2 separate regions of the Homo sapiens genome follow, and region 1 is linked to region 2. The links are contacts of gene promoters, found by promoter capture Hi-C in blood cells and fetal thymus (Javierre and others, 2016). All regions are on one chromosome and are shown on one strand. The core of a region is centred on a gene start or on the middle of the fragment in contact, and the rest is flanking DNA. Distances in the headings are between cores, read along the strand shown. Region 1 overlaps FADS2 (fatty acid desaturase 2). Region 2 holds the start of BEST1 (bestrophin 1).

The links. The method cuts DNA at HindIII sites, captures the fragments that hold promoters and counts their contacts. A CHiCAGO score of 5 or more calls a contact.
Region 1: a fragment that was not itself captured here is called in contact with the fragment with the promoter of BEST1 in region 2 in 1 of 17 cell types (neutrophils); the score reaches 5.6 in neutrophils.

What each region holds. Positions count from the first base shown.
Region 1 is chr11:61,850,785-61,857,926 of GRCh38, reverse strand. FADS2 (fatty acid desaturase 2) reads right to left here. Exons shown (of 12, transcript NM_004265.4): 6 at 856-916; 7 at 397-473. Among named protein-coding and RNA genes, the nearest start is that of MIR6746, 24 kb to the left of the region's middle. RefSeq lists an enhancer at 433-934. The HindIII fragment of the contact is 6,600 bases long and covers 2,593-7,142 here.
Region 2 is chr11:61,944,565-61,951,663 of GRCh38, reverse strand. It overlaps BEST1 (bestrophin 1), which reads right to left and starts at 1,313. Exons shown (of 11, transcript NM_004183.4): 1 at 1,237-1,313. It also overlaps a transcript of RAB3IL1 not described here. RefSeq lists a silencer at 5,452-5,615. The HindIII fragment of the contact is 17,311 bases long and covers 1-7,099 here.

The DNA of each region.
Region 1 (7,142 bases), core at 4,643-7,142, 98 kb after region 2:
ACACCTGTCATCTCAGCCAACGCCCAGCTGCTCCAACTTCAAACCAGGGTGTGGGGCAACCCAGTTCATGGGACTCAGGGCCCACAGGGAGCGGGGAAGGGAGATGGCCACACTTGCCTCTCATCCTGCTGCCTTTGAGAACTTTCTCGGGGGCTCTGCAAAAGCAGGGGCTGCCCCAGTGGACTCCCTATGTCTGAGGGAGAGTAGAGATCTTTAGGACTAGGTCCTGGTGGCCCCAGAGGGAGTCCTTTCCTGAGAGGCAGCTACCCCAGGGAGGAGATGCCTGGGGCCCCACAGGCTCCACTGGGGCACACGAGGAGGCAGCGTAGGACCCCCGGGTCCCCCTGTCCCAGTCACCCTCCTCCCCATGCCAAGCCAGCTGTGTCCCCAACTCACCACCCAGTTCTTATGGACGATCATGGTCATGATGATCTGGTACTGGAAATACATGGGGATGAGCAGCGGCGGCCCAACTGCAGGAGAGAGACAGGCGCTTAGAGGCATCCATTCCACCCTGCCTGTGCCGGAAGGTCAGGGGAACCCAGGCCCAGCACTGAGTGCAGGGGCCAGCCCTGCAGACGTGGGCAGAAGCAGCCAGGGACCCCGGGGCCTGCAGAGAAGGCTGGGAGCCCTTGAGGACGTGTGTCACCCCTGGGACTCTCTGAGCCTCTGTGTCCCCATCAGGCCTGTAACACAGGCTGAGGGGTCTGCACAGCAAGGCTGCTGTGGCCCCCGCTTCTAACAAGTTTAGTGTCACTTTCTGGATCTGAAAAAGATGTCAGGTAGGAGGGAGAGACACGCCACTCTGGGGGGAGGGGAGGGTCCCAGAGTGATTTCGGGGCGCCGAGCACTCACTCAGGAAGAAGTATTCGTGCTGGTGATTGTAGGGCAGGTATTTCAGCTTCTTCTTGCCGTACTGAGGAGAGAGGAGAGATCATGAGCACCCAGTAGCCTCAGCTCCCAGCCTCCCATGTTCCCCAACCCATCCTGCAGCCACCATCCCTTCTATCTGCTCAGGGCACACCACTGTCCCTTTCCTGTCAATCTGCACCCTGGGCCCACCAAGCCTGGGGCCCCTCCAGCCCTCTGGGCTCCCCATGCTACAGCCAGCAGCGGCCAACGCTTCCTCAGCCCTAGCCGAGCACTGGCCCGATGGCATCGATCCTCTACAAGGCCGGCACTTCTGAGGCTGAGGCTCAGCGTTAAGCCATGGCCCAAGGCCACAGGAAGTGGCCCTGACTGGGATCAGAACCCAAAAAGCTGACTCTGAGCCCATGTGACAGGCACTAAACAAATGTTTGTTGAATGAATGTGCAACAGAGCAACTCTCGGCGGAGCATAAGCACCCAGGGGAGTTCCTAGGTCACCATGGAGAGCTCCCGGAGCCCGCAGTGGCAGGGAGAACCTAGGTAAGGGCCCCAGAATTGCTGCCAGTCATCAGGCTGGGAGCATCTGCCTCCCTGGAGCCTCCCTGTAATTTACAAGAGTGAATCACTCCTCCCCAGCTGGAGCCTAACCTTGAGGACAGAGGAGGCCACAGCACAGACTCCTCAGGCCACATCTGGCTACCTGAGGTCCCCATGACGGCACCGGTTTCTTCCCCATCAGAGCCTGCACCTTGGGCAGCCTGATGCCCAGAGGCTCTAATGGAGGAGGGCTGGGCTGGGTCCTGGGCATCGTCATTGTCCAATGCCAGGCATAGGAACCACGGCCCCAGGGGATCCCTGGAGCCCTTAATTCCATGGTCCAGCCCCTAGGGACCAGCCCACCCTGCACTTCCAGGACTGAGACCAAAAGATGCCGCTCACTGAGTGACACCTGCTCCTCTCCCTTGCAGTGTGGGGAGGCTGGGCTTGCAGCCAGCAGATGCGCTTGAGCCGACTCTGCCTCTCACCAGTGCTGAGACTATGTGAGTCGCTTAGCCTTGCTGAGCCTTGTCTGGCATTTGAATCAGTGGTTGGTAAGAGGAGCCAATGAGAACATGGGCATAATGCCAAGTGCTGACCCCAGGACACTGCCCGTCACCCTCCCTATACCCCTGGATCCGAAGGCCAGAGATGCCTCCTCCTATAGTGTCCAGTCATACTTATTGCAGTCAGGAGGTCAAAGTGAGTTACAGAGGGAAGGGACCTTGGATGATGCCTAGGCCAGTGCCCCTCTCATCCAGGTGAGTAAAATGATTGTCCAAATCACAGGGAGAGCATGGATTCCTGAGGGAAGAGGCTGTGGGTGGGAACCAGGTCCACCCTGTCCCCAAGGCTTGCATCTTGGCGCCAATGGCCATGGTCACGGCACAACCAGCTGAAGAACCCCCAGAAACAGTCCCTTTGTTCTGTGTGGCCTCCTGAGCCTTGGCAAGGATCTCACTCATTCCCAGAAAGGACGGCCACTTGCAGGAAGACTATTATTAAGGCCAGGGCTGAGGCCGGCCATGGAGAGGTCCGAGCCAGGGAGGCCTCACAGGAGCCTTTCATGAGTCTCCAGTGGACGGAGTTGCTGGAGGAGCCAGCACTGCAGACGTTGCTCTCGAGGTGGCCAGTCTCGGGGCCTGCAGTGGCCCACAGAACAGGCCCCTGAGTCCTGCTCTAAGCTTCTCCCAGAGGCCAGGGAGCAGGCTCATAGCCCCAGCCTTGGCATGCAGTGTCTCCAGCTCTGCTCAAGAGCTCCTCCCCACCGCATCTCTGTCCCACAGAGCATCCCATCCCTCTCGGGCTGGGCCGGCTGTACTCGGAAGTGAGCACAGAGGGCAACCCAGGCAGGTCAGCAGGGGCCAGGGCATCCTATGGAGGGACTGAGGGCTGGCCACGCTGTTGTGGGGGCCTGGGAGGCACCTGGGGAGTCTGTTTGGAGCTGCATGTGCACAGTAGGCACCCTGTTCTCATGGGTGATGGTGGCCTGTGGGTGGACAACACAGGTTACAGGGGCTGCCTCTGCTGGTAAGCACTGCTGGCTTTAGTGTGCGTCCCTTCAATGCCCCAGAATGACCCTCGGGAGCCAGGGGGTCCTGCTTGCCAGGCAGCAGCAGGCCTCAGAGTGGGCCTCTGTGGGACGGTGAGCAAAATGCTCATCACAGTCACGCACGTGTATGTACATGCGTATGGTGACATACCACTACACATCTGTGCCCATCTCGATGGCCTCAGCTGCAGCGGCTCTGCTGGGGGATGGCCAATACTCCCCTCCCAAACCAGAAAGTACAACTGTGGGTTTGGGATACGAAGCCCTGCCCTGTGGCTAACTCTCTGCTCTCATCTTTCCCACGCTCAGTTCTTTGCCAGAGCTTTGCCGTTTAAGTCATGGGACCAGGGAAGGGAGGGAGAGGTATTTTAGAATGTAGCAAGCTAGGGGGGTGAGTGCCTGGCTGTTTAATTGATCAGAAAGCTGGGGCTACCCAACAAACATATTTCACAAGGGCCCCCAGGACTCCGAAGCTGTGGTTTGCAGCCAGATGGTTTGGGTTCGGACAGTGGTGTTGCCTTTTCCTTGCTGTTACCTTGAACAAGTCACTTCATGTCTCTTGGCCTTAGCTGTTCCATCCATGAAATGGGTCGATGACAGCTCCCGCCTCACGGGTTAAGCAAGGATTAAGTGACGTTGTGCACGCACACTGCCCATCACAGTGCCCGGTCCACAGACTCACTCAACAAGAGTCAGGCTTCTTCCCAACTGGGGGCTCAGAGCCCCAAGTGTGGGGAGTGGAGGACCCCACACATCTCCTCCTCCAGAGGAGTCCCCGTCACACACACAGAGAAAGCCCAAGAGGCAAGGAAGACACATGACTTTCACCTGGCTGGGCTGCGGCCAAGGGTGTGGGTGGCACACATGGACCTCCCCCTGATCAGCAACAGTGCCTTCCCAGGCTGCGGTTGACAGGCAGAGACGCAGGCCAGGGGCAAGGGAGGGAGTGCAGCCAGCCCTGGCGGCGGGGCTGACTCTCCTGTCCTCGGCCTCTCCATGCACCTCAAGGCCAGGCTTGGATGAGGGCCTGGGGGATGCCGGGCCATGTGGAGGGGACCTTTCAGCTTTGGAACAAAATGTCTGAGGAATGACAAGGGCCCTCCTTGTCCATCGAGGGTTGGGGGAGGGGAGCTGTCGCAAAGCCCAGTCTCTGCCTCTGGGAACCTGCAAACTCACACACAGAGAGAAACAGGCGGCACGACCTCCCCAGCAGGAGCAGAATGGCAAGGTCCCAGTCCAAGGTCCCCGAGAGGGCGGCATGTGTGTCCCAAGGCGGGATGGGTGGCTTAAGCCTGTTCATGAAGGTCTGCCTCAAGCAGGAAGCCCAGGAGGTTAGCTTCAGACAGTCAGAGCAGCAGAGGTGGTTTCCCGGATGGGAGGAGGAGGAGGATCTCAGGCACCGCACGGCTTCTGAGGCCCCTTTACACTGCTACCGGGATAATGGTCTCACCAGCCCCCTCAGAAAACGGGGATATGGCAAAAGAAGAACAAAACAAGGCTGCTGCCAATATCACCGCTATTAAACTCAGCTCTGAAATTTCCCGTCAATGCAATAAAACCCAAAGCAGAAAACAGAGTGGAGCTATTAGAAAGAAAGAGACTACTTCAACATCCAGATTAGAAAGAAAGAAGGAAAGGAAGGAAGGAAGGAAGGAAGGAAGGAAGGAAGGAAGGAAGGGAGGGAGGGAGGGAAGGGAGGGAGGGAGAGAAAGAAAGAGAGAGAGAAAGAAAGAAAGAGAAGAAAGAAAGAGTGACTACACTTTTTTTCTGTTTGTTTTGTTTTGTTTTGTTGTTGTTGTTGTTGTTGTTGTTTTGAGACGGAGTCTCACTCTGTCGCCCAGGCTGGAGTGCAGTGGTGCTATCTCAGCTCACTGCAACCTCCGCCTCCCAGGTTCAAGCGATTCTCTTGCCTCAGCCTCCAGAGTAGCCGAGACTACAGGCGTGTGCCACCATGCCCAGCTAATTTTTTGTATTTTTAGTAGAGACGGTGGTTTCATTGTGTTAGCCAAGATGGTCTCGATCTCCTGACCTCGTGATCCGCCAGCCTCGGCCTCCCAAAGTGCTGGGATTACAGATGTGAGCCACCACGCTGGGCCGAGAGACTACGTTTTCATTATTTTCTAGGATATGATCATCTACCCAGGAAACTCAAAAGAATCAACCGAAACACAACTAGAATTACGAAGAGACGTAAGTGGACACTAGCGGGACAAAAGATAACTATCCCATTCATTGGAAGGCCATGCAAACAAAAATTTAGAAAAAAAAGAAAATTAAGATAACTACCCCAATATCCACTGCTTTCCCGAGTACTGGAGAACCTCCAATCATAATGACAAAATATAAAACATATAAGGATTGCGTTTTAAAAGAAACATCCATGAGACATATAAAGAAGTACAGACCTTGGCCGGGCACAGTGGCTCATGCCTGTAATCCCAGCACTTTGGGAAGCTGAGGTAGGCGGATCACTTGAGGTCAGGAGTTCGAGACCAGCCTGGCCAACATGGTGAAACCCCATCTCTACTAAAAATACAAGAATTAGCCGGGCATGGTGGCGGGTGCCTGTAGTCCCAGCTACTCGGGAGGCTGAGGCAGAACGATGGCTTGAGCCCAGGAGGTTGAGGCTGCAGTGAACCGAGATTGCGCCACTACGCTCTAGCCAAGGTGACAGAGCATGACCTTGTCTCAAAAACAAAAACAAAAACAAAAAGAGAGAGAAAGAGAAGGGGAAAGGCACCCCACTACGAGCTTCCAATGAGTTAAGTGCCAAGGATGAATGAGTGTGAGTGTGGCCCCCAAGTCATCCAGACGGTGGCCTGGGAGAGGACAGACAGCCCAGCCCAGGCCAAGCCCGGGCTCAGGAGCACTCACTGCCTCATATGAAGAAGCAATGCCACCTCATGGGGGTGCCGGGAAAACTGGCCGACTCTGGAGAAAAGTGAAGGCCGAACATCATCCTACCCATATCCCATTTGGCAGAAGTTAAAGATTGAAACACAAAACCTTAAAGAACTGAAAATAATATGTATGAAGAACTTTCTAAGCACACAAGAAATGAATCTCTGGGTAAAGTGAATATACTTTGCTACATATGACAAAAAGAATCCTCCTGGACAGCATCAATAAGACCAAAATGCAGAAAACGAGGAAAAGGGCTTTACTGCGGAGCCCGCGCTATTCACAGTTCCACGTGCTGGGAGCCGCTTGGCAGGGCTGCTTTGCTTATCTGTCCCCAGAGATAGAAGCCCTGGCCGGCATCCTTGCTCTGGAGACTGGGATGGTGGCTTGAGGCCCTGGGACCTGGCCGCCCCACCTGGCCCTGCTGTGGTGTGTGGGACTGGCATGTGACAAGTCCCATCAGACCCACTGTCACTTCAGTCAAGAGACCAGGGTTCCTTCCAGGGCGGCCGGGTCCTGCGAGAGCCAGAGCACAGGTCAAAACACCAGGAACCCAGGAAGCACCAATCCTTTCCCCATGAGTGTGAGAGCGGGGATTTCCACAGAACACCGCGGCACTGGCTGGGGACTTCCAAACGCCGCTGGTAACTGAACAACCAGATCCTCACAGCCTCCCACCCCTATCTCCTGCCCCAAAGCCAGCGTTCCAGAAGTGTCGGGGGTGAGAAGATGTCGGGAAAGGAGAGGCTTCTCTGGCCACCACGCACAAGAAAGACGCCTTCTTGCCAGTGCAGCTGGTGGGACTAGACTTTCTTTGTTGGAGACACAGAGAACATCTGTCAGGACAGCCAACGGCTCTACATTACAAAGCCTCGCCGAGAAAATGAAGCCTTTGTCCCCACTTATCAGAGGGCCTCAAGTTCATCAGTTCTGTTTTCTAGACACCTCTAATTAAAGCTGGCAAACTGTTTCCTAGAAGAATAACAATAGCCTGTACTTTGGCAGAAAATGGAATCCCTGGCAGCTTAGAGAGGCTTCCAAAGTACAGAACTGTGGCTGATTTCCTGCGAATTGGCCATGTTACAGAAAAATCCACGTTCCTGCTCAGATAGTCTCACGGGTGGAAATGAAATAAGAAGAGGGTGTACAAACCAGAACTGGGGAGCCAGGCTGTCTCCTCGCCTTGTTCCAAGCCTTAGGCGCCAAGGCTGTCGGGAATACTACTTCACTCACGGTGCCACTCCTTAGTGAGGGAAAATTGGCCTCACTTGGCAGATGCTGAT
Region 2 (7,099 bases), core at 64-2,563:
AGGAGGTGGATGAAGTGGTCTCCAAGGCCCTGCCAGTTCTGACTGCCTTTTGGAAGTAGAAACGCAAGAAAGTGAGCCCAGAGGCTGCCCTTTGCTTTGGCAGGGAAGACGTAGATAGGCGTGTGCATTGCCATGTGCCTTTAACTTTCTATAATCACTGGGCGCAGTGGCTCATGCCTATAATCCCAGCACTTTGGGAAGTCGAGGCAGGTGGATCACCTAAGGTCAGGAGTTCGAGACCAGCCTGGCCAACATGGTGAAACCCTGTCTCTACTAAAAATACAAAAAAATTATCCAGGCGTGGTGCGGGTGCCTGTAATCCCAGCTACTCAGGAGGCTGAGGCAGGAGAATCGCTTGAACCCAGGAGGTGGAGGTTGCAGTGAGCTGAGATCACGCCATTGCACTCCAGCCTGGGTAAGAAGAGCAAAACTCTGTCTAAAAATAAATAAATAAATAAATAAATAATACAATGACAAAGGCAGTAACAGCAGCAATGTCTACACACTAAGCTCAGGTCCTCTGGGCTAGGCAGTGTTCTCAGCCCATCTTGTTCGTTAGCTCCCAAGCTCTCTCAACCACCCTAGTGTGAGAAGTATGGAAGGGACCAGGCAGCCCTGTCCACCACCATATTCCCATTCCCATAATGGAACCTAGCTGGTAGAGATGCTCAAATGATGTTTACTGAATGGTGGCTCCAGGGCCTTTCCACCTGCTGATCTTCCTGCCTGGAGGAAGCTCTTCCTGAGATACCTGCATGGTTCCTTCCCACTCCAGGTTCCCTTTAGAAAGGATGTTCCCAACCATCCAACCTGGAAATAGAGCCCCACTGCCACCGGTGCTCTGTGTCTCCTCACCTTGCTTGATATTTCTAGAGAGCACTTATCACTACTTGAAATTATACAGGATATCTGCCTGTTTCCTGCCTGTTTCCTCCTCAGAATGGAAGCTCCTCTTGTGTTCTCGTAGAAGGCGCTCAATAAAAATTTACTGAAGCAGTGATTGATGCCCCCTCCATTCTTTCCCTGTGTGTTTTGCTGCAGCCACACTGGCTGGCTGTGCCTGATGCACACCAAGCTCATTCCCACCTCAGGGCATTTGCACAGACACACAGGTGCCCACACACCTGCGCATGTGCTGCCTGTGTGTGCATATCCCACACAAATACGCAAGATGGCCATCCAACCCTGAAGGCCTCAAAGCCCCAGCCCAGTCCACCTGGGGCACCTTGTACTCACAGGTGGGGTTCCAGGTGGGTCCGATGATCCCACAGAAGGTCTGGCGACTAGGCTGGTGGGACTCCCTGGGACTCTGTGGCCAGTGCCCCTGCCCACTCTTAGAGGCTGGCACTGCCCACGTGAGTGCTGAGCCGCCGTCACTTGACTCCCTAAGCCAGGACCTCCACAAAGGAGTCCTTGTCTTAGTCCCTTCTTGTAATCTGCTCAGAAGCAACGGCTAGCACAGCCTGGCCATGGCCCCTCTAATTTCTTCTTGGAGGGTGTTGGGCTGAGACCAGGGCTGGAATTTAGGGCAACACCCCCTCTACCATGGCCCTAAAATCCAGAGGCTAAAGGATCTGCTCCACCAGTGTTCTGACCCCTGAGGCCTTGCAGAGAGAGTTGGGGGTTAGGGGGCTGTGCTGAGCTTCAACTTCTGTGCCAGGAACTCTCCAGGAAGGAGGAGCCTCTGACTAGGCCCTGGGGTCTTTGACAGCCCTGTGGGCTATGGAAAGAATGAATACCGGGCTGCAGTCAACAGTCCTGGTTTCTGGTCCCAGCCTTGCCACCTGTGTGTGGTGACCCCGGGTAGGTTTCAGCTCCTCTCTCAGCCTCAGTGCCCTTATCTGAAAAGGATGGTGTTGCTTGGGAATTTCATCACCCTAGTAAAATGACAGAATTCTGCATATGCTGACGAGGAGCTCTGATTGGCTGCTGGTGACATCATACGTTATTCTGGCTGTGATTGGCTGGCAGGGCCCATCAGTAAGTTGCTTCAGAGAGATGGAAGGAGAAGCCTGCCGGGGCTGGTGGAGGGGGGTGAGTCTGGTGGGGGTTGACAGAACAGCCCTGGAGTTTATGCTGCTGGCTTCCAGCCAGCCAGTGCAATATGGGAATAAATGCCCAGATCCCCACGGGCAGCTGGTGAAAATCTCAGCATGTGATTCAATAAATTTTAATACATCAATCCATACTCAAGGGCTCTCCTAAGCTGTTGGAAGTGGTGGGTGTCTACCTACACACTCCTCTTGTATTGTTCAATGAAGAGAGCAGAGCTCTAGGCAGCAGTGGTTCTTGGTCTTTAGAGGCCGTAAGAATCGCCCAAATGTTTATTAAACGGGCAGTTTTCTGGATCTTTCTCCAGAGTCTGAGTCTGTGGCCTTAGGGATGTTGCATTTTAATCAAGCACTGCAGGGGATTATGAGATGTGTGGTTTTGGGACTAAACTTCCAGAAGCCCTGATTTTATAATATGACCTTGTGTCTTAAACCCACTCTCATCCTCCCTTTCCTGTCACCCTCTCTCTCTGAAATGTACTAAGCGTTAACTATGCTGAGATTGCAGGTGATTTTTCTACACACCACTTTTTTTTTCACTTTAAGTTCTGGGATACGTGTGCAGAATGTACAGGTTTGTTACATAGGTATACATGATGTGCAGGTTTGTTACATAGGTATACGTGTGCCATGGTGGTTTGCTGCACCTGTCAACCCATCATCTAGGTTTTAAGCCTTGCGTGCATTAGGTATTTGTCCTAATGCTCTCCCTCCCCTTGTCCCCCACCCCCACACACCATTTTTGCCTTTATATAATTATCTGCCTAGAAAAAAAAACACTATTTCGCAATGACCTTGAATACTTTTCTAATCATGGCAAACAATAAAGCTGTTGTTATTATAAGACTCTCTTTAGAGGCAGCCTTGTAGGAGTATTTACTGCCTCCCCGCTGCCCCATCGCTGTCCTCAACTGATATGGGGAAAGAAGCAGGTTCACTTCAGCCTCAGTCTCCTCATATGCAAAATGGGACAACGATGCCTACCTTGGCAGCCGAATGAGAATGATGGATGGGACATGTGTCCGTCAACTCTCCAAACCACTGGTGCCTGTGCCTGACCCCTACGAATTCTGATTTGATTGGTCTGGATGGACCCCAGGTGTTGGGATTGTTCAAGTTCTCCAGGTGATTCTGATTTTATGGCCTGTGCTGAGTCATTGCTTAATGGATTATTTCCCTATCCTGTATTCCCTTCCCAACCAACACATCCTGAAACTCAAGAGCTTTCCATTTAGAAGATGATAAATATATATTATATATATTTATATATTAACATATGTAAATATGTATTAATATGTCTATAATATTACAAATATATTTGTATGTACACATATATTTATACATATAAATATATAAGTAAATATATAACTATATTTTTGAGACAAGGTCACCCAGGCTGGAGTGCAATGGGTGTGATTTTGGCTCATTGCAACCTCCACTTCCCAGGCTCAAGCAATCCTCCCATCTCAGCCTCCCAAGTCGCTGGGACTACAGACGCACACCACCACACCCAGCTATTTTTTTTTTTTTTATAGAGATAGGGTCTCACTACATTACCCAGGCTGGTATTGAGCTCTAAGTTCAAGCAGTCCTCCCACCTAGGCCTCCCAAAGTGGTGGGATTACAGGAGTGAGCCGCCACACTCGGCCAATAAGTATGTTTTAACTAAAGTTAACACACATGCCTGGCACCATGCCTGGAACATTGATGCTCATTCTGTACTCTCTGAAGGAATAAATGAAAATCCTGCCTTTGTGGAGACAAGTTCTTGCCTTCCCTGTGGTGGCCACTAGAGAGCGTGCTTGACTAGCTGGCTCTGGCTGGGGAAGCCTGGTTCACTGGTCAGGATCAGTGCAGACCACGGAGCTGGCACTGCTTCATCTCCCTGACCCCGACCAGCAGCCATAGAGCCATGAGAGGGAGTTGGAGACACTAGAGTCCCTCCTCCCTGTTCCCTGAACCGCAGGCTCCTTGGCAATATCCCAGGAGTACCACCAGGACCATAGACAGTGCATGGCCAGTCTCCCTTCCCCTCCCAGAGGCCCCAGCATGTCCCCAGAGACATCCCATGAGCAGCTGCTCCTGGCCCTGCCCCAGAGCTGAGACAGGCACACCCTGGCACAAGTCATGGTCTCTCCTACTGGGTCTCAGCTATGAAAATGTCCCCAGTTAGCCAGGCACGGCTCAGGCACACAGCAAAGTCATGAGTGCTGATTGACCCAAGCCATGCCTGGAACAAGAGTCCCAGGATTGACCCCTGCAGAGATGGCACCCAACCCAGTCAAGGTCGCCCTCTTCTGCTTTCCGTTCCGCAAAGAAAATATTCGCCAAACCATTTCTCCTTCCAGAACTGAGCCTAATCTGATTCCTGCCTGTACGTATTCATAGTCAAAAAATTTGGAAACACTTAAATAACAACTCTAACACAGAATGGCAAGGCCTAAGATCTGTGCCAAGTGCACAGAGGTCAGGGAAATTTTTACAGACAATGGGGCATTTCGGTTGGGTCTTGAAGCATGAGTAGGAGTTCATGGAGCTGAGAAGAATGGAAGAGCATTACACATCAGGGGAACAACCTACGGAAAGTCATAGAGCTATTCCTGAAGGATGATTCAGTATCGCATGTTTATCCACATTTTACAAAGGAGGACACTGAAGCTCAAGGCCTGCCTTGTCCAAGGTCACACAGCTATAAATGGCTTGAGACTAGGATCTAGGTCTTTTGATTTTGGATCCTGAGCCCTTTCCCACTATCAGCTCTACAGTAAAGGTCAGTTTCTGAGAGGTAGAGTCTTACCTGCTAGGGTAGTGGTCTCTCTTGGGGTTGAAGGGAGGTCCAAAGGATGGGGCCTGCATGAAAGATACTTTTTTTTTTTTTTTGAGACGGAGTCTCGCTTTGTTACCCAGGCTGGAGTGCAGTGGCATGATCTTGGCTCACTGCAACATCTGCCTCCTGGGTTCAAGTGATTTCCGGCTAAGTATTGTATTTTTAGTAGAGATGGGGTTTCACCATGTTGGCCAGGTTGGTCTTGAACTCCTGACCTCAAGTAATTCACCCGCCTCGGCCTCCCAAAGTGCTAGGATTGCAGGCATGAGCCACTGTGCCTGGCCGCATGGAAGAAACTTTGACTGCAGCAGATTCCAAGCTCTCGAGCTCCCCAGCAGAGAGCCATCTCTTGGGGCAGCAGGGCAGAGCTGGGGAGATGCGCGGGGGTGCCAGACACAGAATGCTATGGCCTTCTCATCTAGAATTACCATAGCAACAGGAGCATCACAGAGGGCCTGCCTCGGTGCCCTTCTAGGCCCTGCCTCAGCTGGGCAGGAAGAAGGAGACCCAGCTTGGCTGGGGGCAGTAGGCAGGGGGCCCCGGGGTAAGTCAGCCAGGCCTGGATGCTGCCTCCAGGCTTTATGTGGGACACCTGCCAGCCCACACCCCTCTCTTGGGCCAGTCACAGAACAAATAGGGCAGAGGCCAAGAAAGAAAAGGAGGGGGCTTGGCATAGCTGGACAGGGGTGCTGGGGGACACTGCCAGTCCAGGGCCCGGAAGCCAGACAGACAACAGCACCTCCACCCTGAGCTCAGGCAGCCCTGATCCCTGAAGGACGGAGTAAACTCAACATTCAAAGAGATAGAAACATAAGCCCTGGGCACCACAGAAAGACGACAGAAACCAGGAGAGGCTGGGATACACCTAGGTCCAACTTCATCAAACCCAGTCCTGCCCATGACAACGGAATAGCATGGAATAGACCAGAGCTGGACCAACTAGAGACACAAGGCAAGAGGATCCACTGTGCTGCGAGGTCCCCCATGGACTCTGCCAGGCTGCAGTCGGCCAGGTGAGGCACTGACCACTATCCACCTTCCACCCACCCCCACCCCTCCAGCTCAGAACTGGGGCTCGTGGCAGGTGGGTAGCGGAAAGGACATCATGGGTCAGGCTTCTCCTAGACAACTGTGCAGGGCCTGGATGCTGTCAAAGGTTCACACCCAGTGAGTAGCCTCAGTGTCTTCAGCTCAAATGGGCATGTTGAGTTTGACGTGCTGTGAAAGAATGGTAAGTTTCTAGTCCAGCTGCTCATTTTGCAGACAAAGAAACTGAGGCACAGAGAAGGAAAATGACTTGCCTGAAGTCACAGTAGGCCGCCTGTCTAGGTGAGTGCAGCAACTCCCCGCTGCCCCAGGATGCTCCTGCGGTTCGCTTCCACGGCGAGCACTGAATGCCGACCGACCGTGTTTAGCGCTGCGGTGGCCACTGTGAGAGGGAAAGAATAGTAGAAACAATCAGTTCTCCCCATCTTGACCACTTACCAGGTGTCAGGCAGTGCACTAAGCGCTCTTTAGAAATGTCATCTACTCATCAAAACAACCCCTGGGGAAGAGGAAGGGTCATCCATCTGTCAGGTGGATGGATGTTGGAGAGGACGGCACAAGGGTAGGCTAGATGAGGAGTAAGCCACATTGGCCCCTATCTGTCAGGTCAATGGGCTGACGGCAGGCTGCCTTAGCTGCCTTTCCCTGCCTCAGATGCAGACTGGCTGGGCTTCCACAGCTACAGCCTTCTCCACCCATGCTAGGGCTACCAGACTTAGCCAATAAAACTACAGGCCAGGCCAGGTGTGGTGGCTCCTACCTGTAATCCCAGCACTTTGGGAGGCTGAGGCGGGTGAATCACGGGAGGTCAGGAATTCAAGACCAGCCTGGCCAACATGGCAAAATCCCGTCTCTACTAAAAATACAAAGATAAGTAGCCAGGCATGGTGGCGCATGCCTGTAATCCCAGCTACTCGGGGAGGCTGAGGCAGGAGAATCACTTGAACCCGGGAGACAGAGGTTGCAGTGAGCCAAGATTGCACCATTGTACTCCAGCCTGGTTGACAAGAGCGAAACTCCGTGTCCAAAACAAAAACAAACATTAGATGACATCCTGGCAAAACAACTACAGGACAGTCAGGCAAATAAGAACTTCAGATAGAAAAGTGAATAATTTTTAGTGTAAATATGTCCCGGGGGAGGGGCCCGGGAGCATCGTCCTTTTTTCTGTGGT